Linked DNA regions of Homo sapiens: region 2 is linked to region 1. Evidence: promoter capture Hi-C in 16 types of primary human blood cells and fetal thymus (Javierre and others, 2016). All regions are on one chromosome and are shown on one strand. Each heading gives the region's core, a stretch centred on a gene start or on the middle of the fragment in contact. The rest is flanking DNA. Distances are from core to core; before and after follow the strand shown. Region 1 holds the start of FBXO3 (F-box protein 3). Region 2 overlaps CAT (catalase).

Region 1 (6,400 bases), core at 1,861-4,360:
GGTTCACTGCGGCCTCGACCTCCTAGGCTCAAGCTATCCTCCCACCTCAGCCTCCTGAGTAGCTGGGACTATAGGCATGCACCACCATGCCTGGCTTTTTTTTTTTTTTTTTTTTTGCAGACACAGGGTCTCTCCAGTGTGGTCTGGAACTCCTGGACTCAAGCAATCTGCCTACCTTGGCCTCCCAAGGTGTTGGGATTACAGGCGTGAGCTATCACGCCTGGCCTTAAAACCTTCTGCTTTCTGATCTACCATAGAAATTAAAATGATAAGCAAATACTATTTTAGTGAAACTCTTTAGAAACCAGCTTCCAAAACAATGAGCAAACTTGGAGGGACTGTTTCTTCCACCCAAGCTTAGCCCTGGGGATGTGAATAGCCAAATTCTGGACTCTCTCTTCCTACCTACCCCTTTTCCAGCCAGTATTGGGGGCAGGGTGGCAGGGGGTGGGGGAAGGGCAATAGGAAGCCCCAGCCCAGGAAAGGGCTCTCCTGGGTCCTGCCTACCTGCATTGCTCCCCCAACCTCTACCACATGCCTCATACCATGCTGGGGAGAAAAGTGGAGCCTGAGCCAAAGCCACCTCTCCAGAGGGGCCTGGGCTAGTGCAGCAGGGGATGGCAACCTGATGGCACTTTGCAAGGTAGGAAGTGGCAGGGCTTAGCAGCCTGGAAAAGAGGTGCTGAGAGCGCATGGCAGAAGCTGTAAGCCCAGCCACATGGGAGAAGCAAGTCTTCCACCTGGCCAGACGCGGTGGCTCATGCCTATAATCCCAGCACTTTGGGAGGCTGAGGCAGGTGGGTCACTTGAGGTCAGGAGTTCAAGACCAGCCTGACCAACATGGTGAAACCCTGTCTCTACTAAAAATACAAAAATTAGCTGGGTGTTGTGGTGTAGCTATAGTCTCAGCTACTCAGGAGGCTGAGGTAGGAAATTGGCTTGAGCCCAGGAGGCAGAAGTTGTAGTGAGCCGAAAGCATGTCACTGCACTCCAGCCTGGGCAACAGCAGAGAAACCCCGTTTCAAAAAACAAACTAACAAAACCATAAAAAGCATGTATTTAGTGCTGCGCATTGTTTTTTCTTTTTGCATCAGGCTCTAATATGGCTTACATGGCACTGTGGGATCCTGTTTTTGTTTAAGAGTTTGGTATTTTGTTCACTGTGAATTTTTTTTGCATTAATTTTTATTTTTAAAAATATTGCATTAAAATGTTATTTATTTGATTATTCAGTTTTTTGGCACCTCTTCTTAAATTTGTGCCCCAAGCAAGTAGCTTTCTTGCCTCACCTTAGTTCTGGCCCTGACAGTTTGGTAGCTTCATACTTTGTCTTCTGCATTAGGTCATAGCTGCACCAAGTCCAAGTGCAATAGGACAGCAGAAGCAAATGCAGTGTACCTGAAACTCCTACCAGCTTTTGGATTTAAAACAGGTGGCCCATCTGAAGTAGAAAATGGAGACAAACATAAATCAGGATCAAATACCTTTACAAGCATTTGTCTATGTAAAAAGGTATGGTTCCCTTGTAAACAGAAATGATTATTCTGTCTTCATTCATCCATTCAACCTGAATTTAAACTTTCTAGTTGTTGAATAACTTGCTAAGCCCTGAAATTAGAAAGATGAGTCAGACTGAGAGTTTACAGTTTGACGAGAGAGACACAGAACAAGTACTTGAAATCCAATTCAATAAATGTTCTTCTAAGCATATGCATAAACAATTTGGAAGCACAGAGATGTAGGCAGAGTTTTTTGTTGCTGTTGTTCTGTTTTGTTGGCTGGGTGGCAGGGGTTATAACTATTAAGCAAAACCATAAATAGAAGGCATTAATGGTATGAAGAATGGAGGAAATGGATTTTTTTGGGGCGGGGCATATCACTTCCACTCTTCCAAATAATTGAGAGAAACTTTCTCCAGGATATGGAAATGTTTGGAGAACTTAGTGACTGATGCATGTATAAGCTTGGAAAATTAACATTTATTGAGTATCTGGCCAGGCACTTTACATAAAGCGTTATCGCCATCCTTAGTTCACCAGAGGAGGGGTGGTTTTAGAGATGAGGGACAGTCTCAGAGAACTTAGGCGTAACTACGCCAGCATTTCACTAGTAGTGAAATAAATGACGGGCGTGTGAAGTCCAGGTCTGTCTGGATTCCCCAAAGCCCCTTACACCATACTACCTTTGGAAAAGCAATGGAAAAGAAGAAATCAGGCAAGTGATGTATGGACCCATTATACTTCCCCCACTCTCATTTTAATATCACCTTGGCAAAGCTGAAGAGCAGACATCTTCGTGCCTCCATCAGTTATGCCCTCTGGGAGTCTCAGTTCATCCCTTCACACGCGGGATACTTAACTCTGCGGGATCTAAACCCTGGCCAAAATAAATTTTAAAGCTGGAAAAAATCCACACTGTACCCTTTGCATTGCCCTAATAGGCTGAAAATAGCCATGATAACCAAATTAAGGGACAGCGGCTGAGACTCAGACTCACTCCTTGTACACATTTTACTTAGGAAGGCGGGGAGGGGCGTGAAGTTAAGCCCTCAACAATTATTTCCTTAATTTGGGAGAAGGGCCTTCAGCTGGCGTCCCTGGCTGATTCTCAGCTCTGCTCTTGCTGAGTGGACAAGTCTCGGAGCGGCCCTGCTGTGTGCGGGGGACAAGCGGGGTGGGGAAGGCTGAGCGGGGAAAACGAGGGGTTCTCGGGTTGGAAAACAAAGAGAAGGAATGGATTTGGGGACCAAGGGCGTGGAGGAGTGTCAGATTTTGAGCGAGGCTTCCTGCATACTGAGTGTAAAATTTCGCAGGAGGAGTTGGGCAGACCGAGGCAGATTTGGCAACAAAAGGGTCCCGGGCTGGGCAAGTTTACGAACCGGGATGCGAGAACAGAGCTGGAGAGATTTGACGCGGAGCGCGAAGAAAGCGGGCTGAACTCGCACTGCGCCGCTGGCTCCCGGCTAGCGGGCGGGGTCTCCAGGGAGCCGCACCTCAGCCCACCCTGAGGGCGGGGCTGGCCCGGCGGTTACATAACAAACCTGTGAGAGCGGCTGGGGGCGGTTCGGGCGCTGGTGGGGGCGGGGCAGGGGCGGGGCCAGGGCGGGGCCAGACCTGCACCGGGCCAGGCAAGATGGCGGCCATGGAGACCGAGACGGCGCCGCTGACCCTAGAGTCGCTGCCCACCGATCCCCTGCTCCTCATCTTATCCTTTTTGGACTATCGGGATCTAATCAAGTAATGGGACGACACGCATGGCAGGGGTGGGGGCATGGGGAGAGGAGGCGGTGAGGCAGGGGGAAAGGGGGTCGGGGCCGCTGACAGGACCCGAGCTTCCGCGACACCAGAAGGTGACGCCAGGGCCGCCCTCATCCTGCGGAGCCACCGGGGACCGGGGCGAGACGGGGGCGGAAAGGGCCTCGCCCTGAGTCTTCCTCCTGTCCTGGGCCCAGGTATGAGAAGCGACGAGATATCTCTCTCCCAGGCCTCGGTGAGGCCCACTTGCAAGAGAAGGAGGTAGTGGCCCTCGTGCCGCACCGCCGCGCTCCGCGGACCCCCGCTGGCCCCGCAGGTGCCCGCCCGGTTGGGGTCAGTCCCTGCTGCTGTGTAAAAGCCCCTGTCCCGGCCAGGCGCTCTTCTCTGCTGGGTCCGGGGCCTGCGGAGTCTGGCGCCGGGGTGGGCAGGTGGGTGAGCGAGAGGAGAAGATAGGCAACCCCTTACTCCCCTGGCGCGACTTCCCCAGCGCCAGAATCGCTGTCCGGGCTCACTTTCGGACTTCAGTGCGTGAGAATTGTTTTGCTGTCAGCATTGCTCCTTACGGTTCGATGTTGGATTTTATGTTTTGGTACTGACTTCCGGTGATGCCATACCGGTGACTATCTTTTCTCCTGGACACCTTGGGTTTCCCACATTACTAGCATCTGTTCCAGAAATAAACACCGGTTGCTGATAAGGGTGGTTCAATGCCCAGTTTCTTCAGAACTTGGGACTGTCTGGGGTGGTGGAAGAAATGGCGCTGCCAGCCCGCCCCCCAGCTGTCAGGATTGTTTACACCCTTGACAGGGGGTGGCATGGCTGTGAGTTTCCTGTGCTACCGTATATATTTGCAGAGGATGCAAAGTCGCCCTCTTAGGATAGGTGGGCGAGATTTGTTTTGTGTTTGGATTAACCATTAGATTCTAGCCATTTGATGATTGTGCCCTGTGTTATTAGAGGTCTTTTTATAAATACAGATTTCTTGGAGCTACAGATAGTTGTTGGCCTAGCTAAGTGGTGATAGAGAGATACCTCAAGTTTTTGGTCACTACCTGTACTGGTCGCTACCTGTACCTGCTAGCAATTTTATTTTTCTAGAAAATACTTACAATTTAACTAACAGTCTCCAACTTTTGATTGCTGCCAGAGTAATCTTTCCAAGACACATCTGGTTGTCATTCTCCTTAAAACCTGTGACACCCCTATGTTTATAGACTATAACCTAAACTTCTGGGGCATTGAAAGCTCTTATCATCTGGCTTGTATATCTAAGGTCCTCCAGGACTTATTTCTCCACCACTATCACATTTGCACCATCCATTCTAACCAAATCAGACCTCTGCCAGCATACAACACACTTGCACTTTCTTTTTTTTTTTTTTTCCTGTGGCTCAAGCTCTCGACCTTGCCTGGAATGCCTTGCCTACCTCTTCTCAACTTGGCAAGGTGGAGAAGATGCCCTCTCTACCTTCTTCCTGCAGAATTGATTTGCCATGTCAGGTAGATGGCGTGCTTCTTGATTGTAAGGGCTGCCTTGCTTATCTTCCTATTCAAAGATTTTTTTTTCCCCGAGGGCTTGCTATGTGCCAGTCTGTTAAGTGTTGAGGGTACAGTAGTGAACAACGCAGATAAGGCAACTCTTATGGAGCTTACAGTCCAGTGGGCAAGCGCATAATTGCAAGAGGTACTAAGTGCTGTGAAGGAAATAGATTGCTCTGTTAAGGAATAGGAAGTGAGAAGTGATCAAATCGGAAGGAGCTGCCATATATGAAGCAGGGCATATGCAGTTCTGGCAGAGGGAAAAGTATGTTCAGAGATTGACGGGACTGCTGAACGGTACTGTTCAACAGCATGGCCTGGTGGAAGATACAGAAGGCTGGCGTTGCTGGAGGTAGGGAGTGACTCACAGACAGTGATGAGATGAGGGTGGTGAGATCATGCAGGACCTTGGGAACCAAGGTGAGGAAGTAAGAGTTTACTTTAAATGCTTTAGGTAGTAATCACAATTTTAAACAGAAGTGACATGATCCCTCTGTAAATGTCTGTGGAAATAAATTGAGTTGAATACCATTTGAATTTTATCTACAGAAAAGTATCCAGTGTATTGCAGCTTTTTTCCTGCACCATACAGCCCAATTTTGTCAAGGGTCTAGTCTAGTGATAAGCTCTGAAGTTTTTGGTATTATTTGCTGAACTGGATTGGGTTGGATTGGATTAGTACACTGGAATCATGTAGCATCAGTTGCCTAGTTTGAATTGAGATGATCTGATACCCTCTCCATTTCAGAGTGATTTATTCTGAAATGGAGTGAATAAATGCCACACTGTGCGTCAGAATGACCTGTGCATCAGAATGGCCTGTGGCACTTTTTAAACATACAGATGCCTGAGGTACAGATCTCAGTCCAAACCGACTGGATCAGAATCTCTAGAACAGTAGTTTTCACTCTCGATGTGCATTGAATTCATCTTTCATGCATATTCCAGATTCTTTTATGTCATTTAGCTCCTAGGGCAGTGGAGGGACAGGAATCAAGAAGAGGGTATGGAAACTGAATGCACAAAACTGGAGGGATTCCTATGTTTACAAAAGTTAATTTGGGCATCTCCTGAGCTTGGCAGAAAAGGATGAGGATGATGTTTCTGTAAAATCTGAAAATCAAACAAAGGCAATTTTGTTTACTATAGATGGTTTTTAACACACCTTAGTCATGGCCTTGACAAACCTGATGTGATTTAAGATTCTGTTGATAGCTATTGCCCAAGTGAGATCTTTGAATACCTACTTTCAATTAATATAACTTGTAATTTCTCTCTGGAAAGGATAGAGTCCTAATCTTAGGTTCATTCTTTTTACAAATTAATTATGTAGGGTAGAATTTACAGGATTGCAACACTGTTGTGTTAGAAATCTTTATATAGTAAGAAAGTTATTTGCTTCTAACATTCGATGTTTTGGGGCAGCTGATAGCTTGTGTAGCCATGACTATTGAGTCAGAACTGTTACGATTCAGGCACCCTCTATAGGTGGACTTTCCAGTAGTTGCTTTAATGAAAACGTGGTTTTTGTGGCAATACTTTTTTCCTTTAAGTAAAAAATTTTAAAAAACAAAAATAAAAAGTCTGTGTATTTAGTAGCATACATC
Region 2 (6,400 bases), core at 2,389-4,888, 670 kb before region 1:
ATGTCTGAATGGTCCCAGTGTGAGTCCACCCTGCAATGGACAGCATCCTGTCCAGGGCTGGCTCTTGCCTTGTACCCCAACCTGCCAGGACAGGCTCTGGCCTCCCACCACCTTGAACTGGAATAAGCTAGTAAATAACTATCTTATTTTACTAATCTTTCTTAAAGGTATGTATGGCTCACATTTATTTCAATGTTTAATATAAGAGGTATTTTGAGTCTCTATTTAGAAGTTTGATGATGTTTTATCAATCAGAAATATGCCATAGGAACTTAACTCTTGCTTACGTCAATTAGCCTATCATAAAATTGGTTTCATTACATGTCGTTTAAAGTCAAAGTTTCCAAGAACCTATTGATGTTAAGTGAGGACTTATTGTATTTTTATTCCTTCAATGATGGGAGAAATGGAAGACTGCTATTTTTAAAAGAAACTATTTTATATATAATGTTTAACCTGAGGAAATAACCATCATTTATTTACTAATTTCCCTACTGCTGGATGTTTTTCCTTTCTCCCACAAATGGAGATTTGACACTTGTGTTAAAGGTCTTCCAATCCTTTGGGAAATAACACTTGACCCAGGTGCTGTGAAACAATCTTTTTACAGCAAATAAACACAGCACTTACCTGCTCCTTTAGCATGCACAACTCTCTCAGGAATTCTCTCTCGGTCAAAATGAGCCATTTCATCAGTGAAAACCACATCCTGAACAAGAAGGGGCCCACGGGGCCCTACTGTAATAACATTAAGTTTGTCTCCTACTGGGTTACCAGCTCCAGTGGTCAGGACATCAGCTTTCTACAGGAACACAGAAAGAAAGTGCAGGAGAGTTAGCACAATCAAACCTTTCATTTACACTGTCACGGGTACATAGCTTTGCAATGTTTATACCATCTGCCCTCTTTTTTAATTTCCTGTGTCCAAAGTACTAAAATCTGACAGGATGGGCCATTGCCTGAAACTTTTAGTGATGCCCCAGAAACCCTTGACAAATCTCAACACTAATCTGCTAAGAAACTTGCTCTGAAGAGCAGAAAGATGATTTTGGAGCCTGAAAATGTGCTCAGCACCTGCTCCAGAGAAAGCCACTGGGTTCTGCAAAGCTCCCAGTCAGAGAGGTGCCCAAAAGCGTCCTACAAGCTTAACAGTGAAATGTCCAATCCAGCAATGAGAAGACGGTCTCCAGGGAAGCTGTGCTGGTCAATACTTTACTCAGAACTTACAAACGCTTTATTACTGCCACGATCTTCAAGTGCGCTACCTTGTTTAGTGCATCTCAAGAAATGTACACCAGCTATTTGCAACATCTCTTTTCAATTAAAAAAAAAAAGTCAATGGCTTTCACTGTCACTAAAAGTAAACTGTTACTGGTAAGGTGGATTATAGTATTAATGTTTTAAAGATAGCAAATGTCTCTGAAATGGGATAGGTTATTTTACTGTAATAAATAATTAATTTTAATCCACCTGATTCTCCAATTTCAGTTACATCAGAAGACACTCAGCTGTCCCTCCTCTAGGGTTAGAGCGGCATTCTTCTAGCCCCACATGATCCTGGAAGCTCATAGCTTCATCTAGTTCCATGGTCAGAGAATACTTTTGACCACAGACAACTGCCTCTGCAGTGTCTTCCCCGGGTCACTGGAAATCAGGAGAGACACGTAAGTGACGCAAAGCTACGCCACCTCCACCTGGGAGAGGAACTCAACGCTGTCTATGACAAAACTCAACAGACCAACTTCACACACAGAGAAAAGCACTATTTTTAGTATTTCCACACACCTAGAGTGGAGTCTGTAGTTTTACTCCCCATGCATGTCTGTCCTGTACATTAAAATAAATTCCTGCCTCTTCTCTAGAAGGCAATACGGTGGGGAGTAGGCACTTACAAAACCACAAAAGATCTGTGAGCTGTTTGAAAAAAGATATTGAATAAAGGAGACCGTGCAATTTGCAAAACTAATAAACAAGACCCTCTCACACACTAGTAAATGCCCTTGCCACTAGAGTTATATCTTCATCCAAGTAGGAAGAGGCCAACATGGCAGCAGGGAGAAACTATGAGTGCCAGCACTAGAGCCTGGGTCCAACTTCCAGTTCTACCAATTACCAGCTATGTAGCTGCTGGTAAGTTACTTATTTATGAGTCTCCATTTTCATCTGCAAAATAGAATAATAAGTACCTCCTAAGGTTAACACATGAATTAAAAGAGTTAAATGTAAAATGCAAGCCACACATTCAACACATATATGCTGTCACTTCACTGGCTGTGAGAACATGACCTCGCAGCAGAAGGAGCAAAGCATTTGAAGTTTTATTTTTCTAGTAATCATGACAGATGCATACTCCTCCATCCACACTCTCTCACTCTACCATCTCTGTCCCTAAACCCATCTAGCAAAGCCCCTTCTAAACTGTCACAGTTTAAGGGTCCAATCAACACTTACCACCCAGTCACATCACTCTTTTGAAGATACATATGTTGCTAATACGTGTGACCCTCTGTGACGTGCTAATACGTGTTACCCTCTGTAGGTTTATTTTTAATTTAAAGTAGAAAATGAACCAGAAAAAAAATTTCTACTTTCTAAAGTAGAAAATGAACCAGAAAAAGAGCAATTTCACCTTTAGTTTAAACCTAAAGCCTTGGTTTTCAACCTTGGCAATGCACTAAAATCACCTGAGGAGCTTTTTAAAGCCTCCTGATGCCTGGGCCATCCCCCCTAGAGATGTCTGATAGAAGTGCCCTGGGTGAGGCCTGGGCTATTTTTAAATGACTCCTGTTCAAGCTAGGATTGAAAACCACTAACCTAGAACTATTGGGTGATAACAAAGTTAAAATAATTAGAGAGCCAGAGCAAACCAAATCTGTTCACTCTTTAAATGCTCTTTTCAACTTACAAACAAGGTATTTAAGGAAGCCTTTAAAAAATAAAGGGACATCCAGGCTGGGCGCGGTGGCTCACACCTGTAATCCCAACACTTCGGGAGGCTGCAGCAGGTGGATCACCTGAGATCAGGAGTTCGAGACCAGCCTGACCAACATGGAGAAACCCTGTCTCTACTAAAAATACAAAATTAGTACCAGGTGCAGTGGAGGGGTGACTGTAGTCCCAGCTACTCGGGAGGCTGAGGCAGGAGAATCGCTTGAACCCAGCAGGCGGAGGTTGCGGTGAGCTGAGATCGTGCCATTGCACTCCAGCCTGGGCAACAGCAGCGAAACTCCGTCTCAAAAAAAAAAAGGGGGGGACATCCCATAAAAGGTACAAGTATGAGAAAAGATACCAAGAAGCTCAGTAAAAGGAACGCTAAACAGATGAGAGTGTTATTTACATGCCAGCATTCTTAACGTGGGGAGGGAGCTGCCCCTAAGGCAGAGATGAGAGCACATCACATGTTCCCTTCTGGTTACCGGGTCAGGGTGATATGGTCAAGAATAAATACCACACCCAAAGGCAGCAGGTGCAGAGTTGGATAAATGAATAAAGTACTAAAGCTTGAGGTGGTCTTTCCTGATGACACTGACTATTAAGAGTGGGAATGCTGGAATTATGGCAGTCCTCCCTCCTGCCCAATGAAGGAATCCCCTCCTTAACATCAATCCTGTTAAGAAATGAAACCTGAGTTTTTAAGTTACAAATGGAGGCTTCAGAATCTCTTCCATTTCCCCACTCTAACAGTTAGATCAATTGTCCTCATTTATATAACAGCTTTCCCCACAAGCTCATGTATATACAATTTACCTTCAAAGCCAGTGGGGCAGGAAAGCTTCAACAGTCAGCAACAGAAAAGGGAAGCCAGGGAGCAAAAACTAGAAAGGAAAAGATCCCCCAACTTCAGGGGATGTTTAGCGCAACATTGGATAAGAGGAACTGATCTAAACTGAAAGATAGAGTATTAATATTAGAAGGTGAGGAGCAGGATGCGGTGTATTTAAGATGAAAATAATTAATGCAATGAAGATTTACTAGATGAAATGAGAGGGTGGGGCTAGAAAACGGACCACGCAAGTTATCTCACTTAAGCCTGTCAATAATCCAGAGATCAATATTATTAATCCCATTTAATGGGCGATACTACAAACTCAGAAAACTTAAGTAACTTTGCAGAGATGTCAGTGTTGTGGCACAGGTTTACTTGTTACATGTAACACGTAAGGACAGGCAAAGAGATTTCCTCCAACTTGCAATTATTGTTTTTAACTCAATGAATAACTTTAGAGCCAGAATATTTTTAAAGAGAGAAAAGCTTCTCTATGGCTGGATAATTTTAAGACCTCTCTCTGGAGAGGTCCTTGTTAACATGTTTACATCTTCCTGGCTGCTAGCTCCCATGACATCCATACGTACCTCTCCTGAACTGCTCTCTCTACCCTGCCCCACACCACTCATGAAGCAGGGCCAAGGGCATCTTCTTGTGCCCCATATAACAAAATATTGTAATTGCCTGTTTATGTCACTGTTTTTCTTTTTTTTTTTTTTTTTTTTTTTTTTTGAGATGGAGTCTCGCTCTATTGCCCAGGCTGGAGTGCAGTGGCATGGTCTCAGCTCACTGTAACCTCCACCTCCTCCCGGGTTCAAGCAATTCTCCCGTCTCAGCCTCCCAAGTAGTTGGGATTACAGGCGACCACCACCACACCCAGCTAATTTTTGTATTTTTAGTAAAGACAGGGTTCCATCATGTTGGCCAGGCTGATGATCTCAAACTCCTGACCTCAAGAAATCCGCCCATCTTGGCCTCCCAAAGTGCTGGGATTATAGGCGTGAGCCACCGCGCCCAGCCTGTCACTATTTTTCCTCTCTAGACTGTGTACTCCTTTTACATCTATATACCTGATCCCTAATACACTGCTCAATATACTAACAAACATAAAACAAATGTGTGTGGATTCAGCATGCAAATAAACTAAACCACGGACCAATATGATATGGCCAAGAGCCTTTCTAACAAGCAGGAGGAAGCAGCAACAGTCTATCCCTCTCCCTGCATCGCCCCTCCAAAAAATGAGAGAAATATTTTAATTTATAAATTCTGATCAAACACCTTTAGACACACTTGTTATGAAAACTGCCACAGAAATTAGCTTGGCTAAAAACTAGCACAATTATTAGAAGTAGGGACTTAAAGTAAAATTCTATTTTGACTTTGCTGCCTTTATAGGCTTCTTTTGGCCAGAGCTAATACATAAATGAAGAAGTTTTCCTGGGAGGAGTAAGGTTGGCTTCATCTGGTGAAATATTTTATCAACATATTACACTTTCCACTTAGTAGTTCCCTTCACTCACAGAAGTTTCAAGAACCTAAACATATTCTTCCACTTTTAATTAAAAGATTGGTTAATGCAAATTGCCCATCAGTCCCAGAGGAGTCATAATGACGTCTTTTCATTCTGTGATAAAGAATGTGCCTAGCGTTTTCTAGCAAATAACTGCCTAACATTCTCCATTTATTCAACAAAGATTCAAGTGCCTACAACGTATACACCCACGTACAGGAAACCAAAGACTGTCCTGACCTTCAAATTTCTTGGTCTGTGGGAAAATAATAAGGGTGGTCTAGATATTGACTGCTGTGGAAGCTAAAGCAATTCCGTCTTAGATACTGATCCACCATGCTGACTTCTGATTAACTCCAGTTTTAAGATTTCCAGTTTATCTATTATTCCTTGTGAAAGAGCCCCTATTTACTATAAATCCTGCCCTGAGGTCAAACAACCTTGACATTATCATACTTCAGTCATGCCATACCTCCCTTCTGAATCGCCCTTCCCTATGGTATTAAGCCCTGGGTCTGAGGGGTAATGGTATGGGATCCACCATCTTGTCTCGCCAACACGCAAGACACAGACATGGTTTCTGGTCCTAAGTCCCTACTAAACATTTCTTTCTGAGAAACTTGATTTGTCAGCCTCTTTCTTTGGCCTCTCAGCTTCCTCAGACTTTGGGGGTAGGTTTGCATAGACCTACCCACCATGCAAAAGCTAAAAAAAAGAAATGAAACCTTAAAAATTTCTGTCCCATCTCCCATAGTCTCTCCCACTGCACATAATGACTTAGCGATTCCATACCTAGGTATATTTCAGGAGAAATGAAAGCACATGTGGACCAAGGGTTAAGTCACTCAGTCACCCCTTCTCCATCCCAAATGTTAGCAGTGTAACATCAATGCAGTTATTACCAGGATTACCCTAAAAAAATATAGACCCTCACAGGCTATAATGCATAGGCAACTCACTGACAGAAATGGATAGTCTAAGACTTAACCTCTCTCCCAGGTAATAAGAGAACTGTATAAAAAGGTAAGGTTTGAAATGTTCAAATTCTCCCATTTTAAAGGGATCAGAGGCTACTTATTAACATTTCCCATTTACCCCCAAGAAAAGAGCACTGGCAGCAA

The links. Contacts are between HindIII fragments. The CHiCAGO score rates a contact against its expected background, and 5 or more counts as called.
Region 2: a fragment that was not itself captured here is called in contact with the fragment with the promoter of FBXO3 in region 1 in 2 of 17 cell types (fetal thymus and total CD8 T cells); the score reaches 6.2 in fetal thymus.

What each region holds. Positions count from the first base shown.
Region 1 is chr11:33,771,230-33,777,629 of GRCh38, reverse strand. FBXO3 (F-box protein 3) reads left to right here and starts at 3,110. Exons shown (of 11, transcript NM_012175.4): 1 at 3,110-3,236. The coding sequence starts at 3,133. FBXO3-DT (FBXO3 divergent transcript) reads right to left here and starts at 2,931. Exons shown (of 3, transcript NR_120550.1): 1 at 2,879-2,931; 2 at 2,267-2,376; 3 at 1,960-2,182. RefSeq lists silencers at 3,018-3,117, 3,578-3,647, 4,973-5,267 and an enhancer at 3,596-4,096. The HindIII fragment of the contact is 5,455 bases long and covers 1,966-6,400 here.
Region 2 is chr11:34,443,594-34,449,993 of GRCh38, reverse strand. It overlaps CAT (catalase), which reads right to left. Exons shown (of 13, transcript NM_001752.4): 2 at 631-802. Among named protein-coding and RNA genes, the nearest start is that of CAT, 7.9 kb to the right of the region's middle. The HindIII fragment of the contact is 272 bases long and covers 3,503-3,774 here.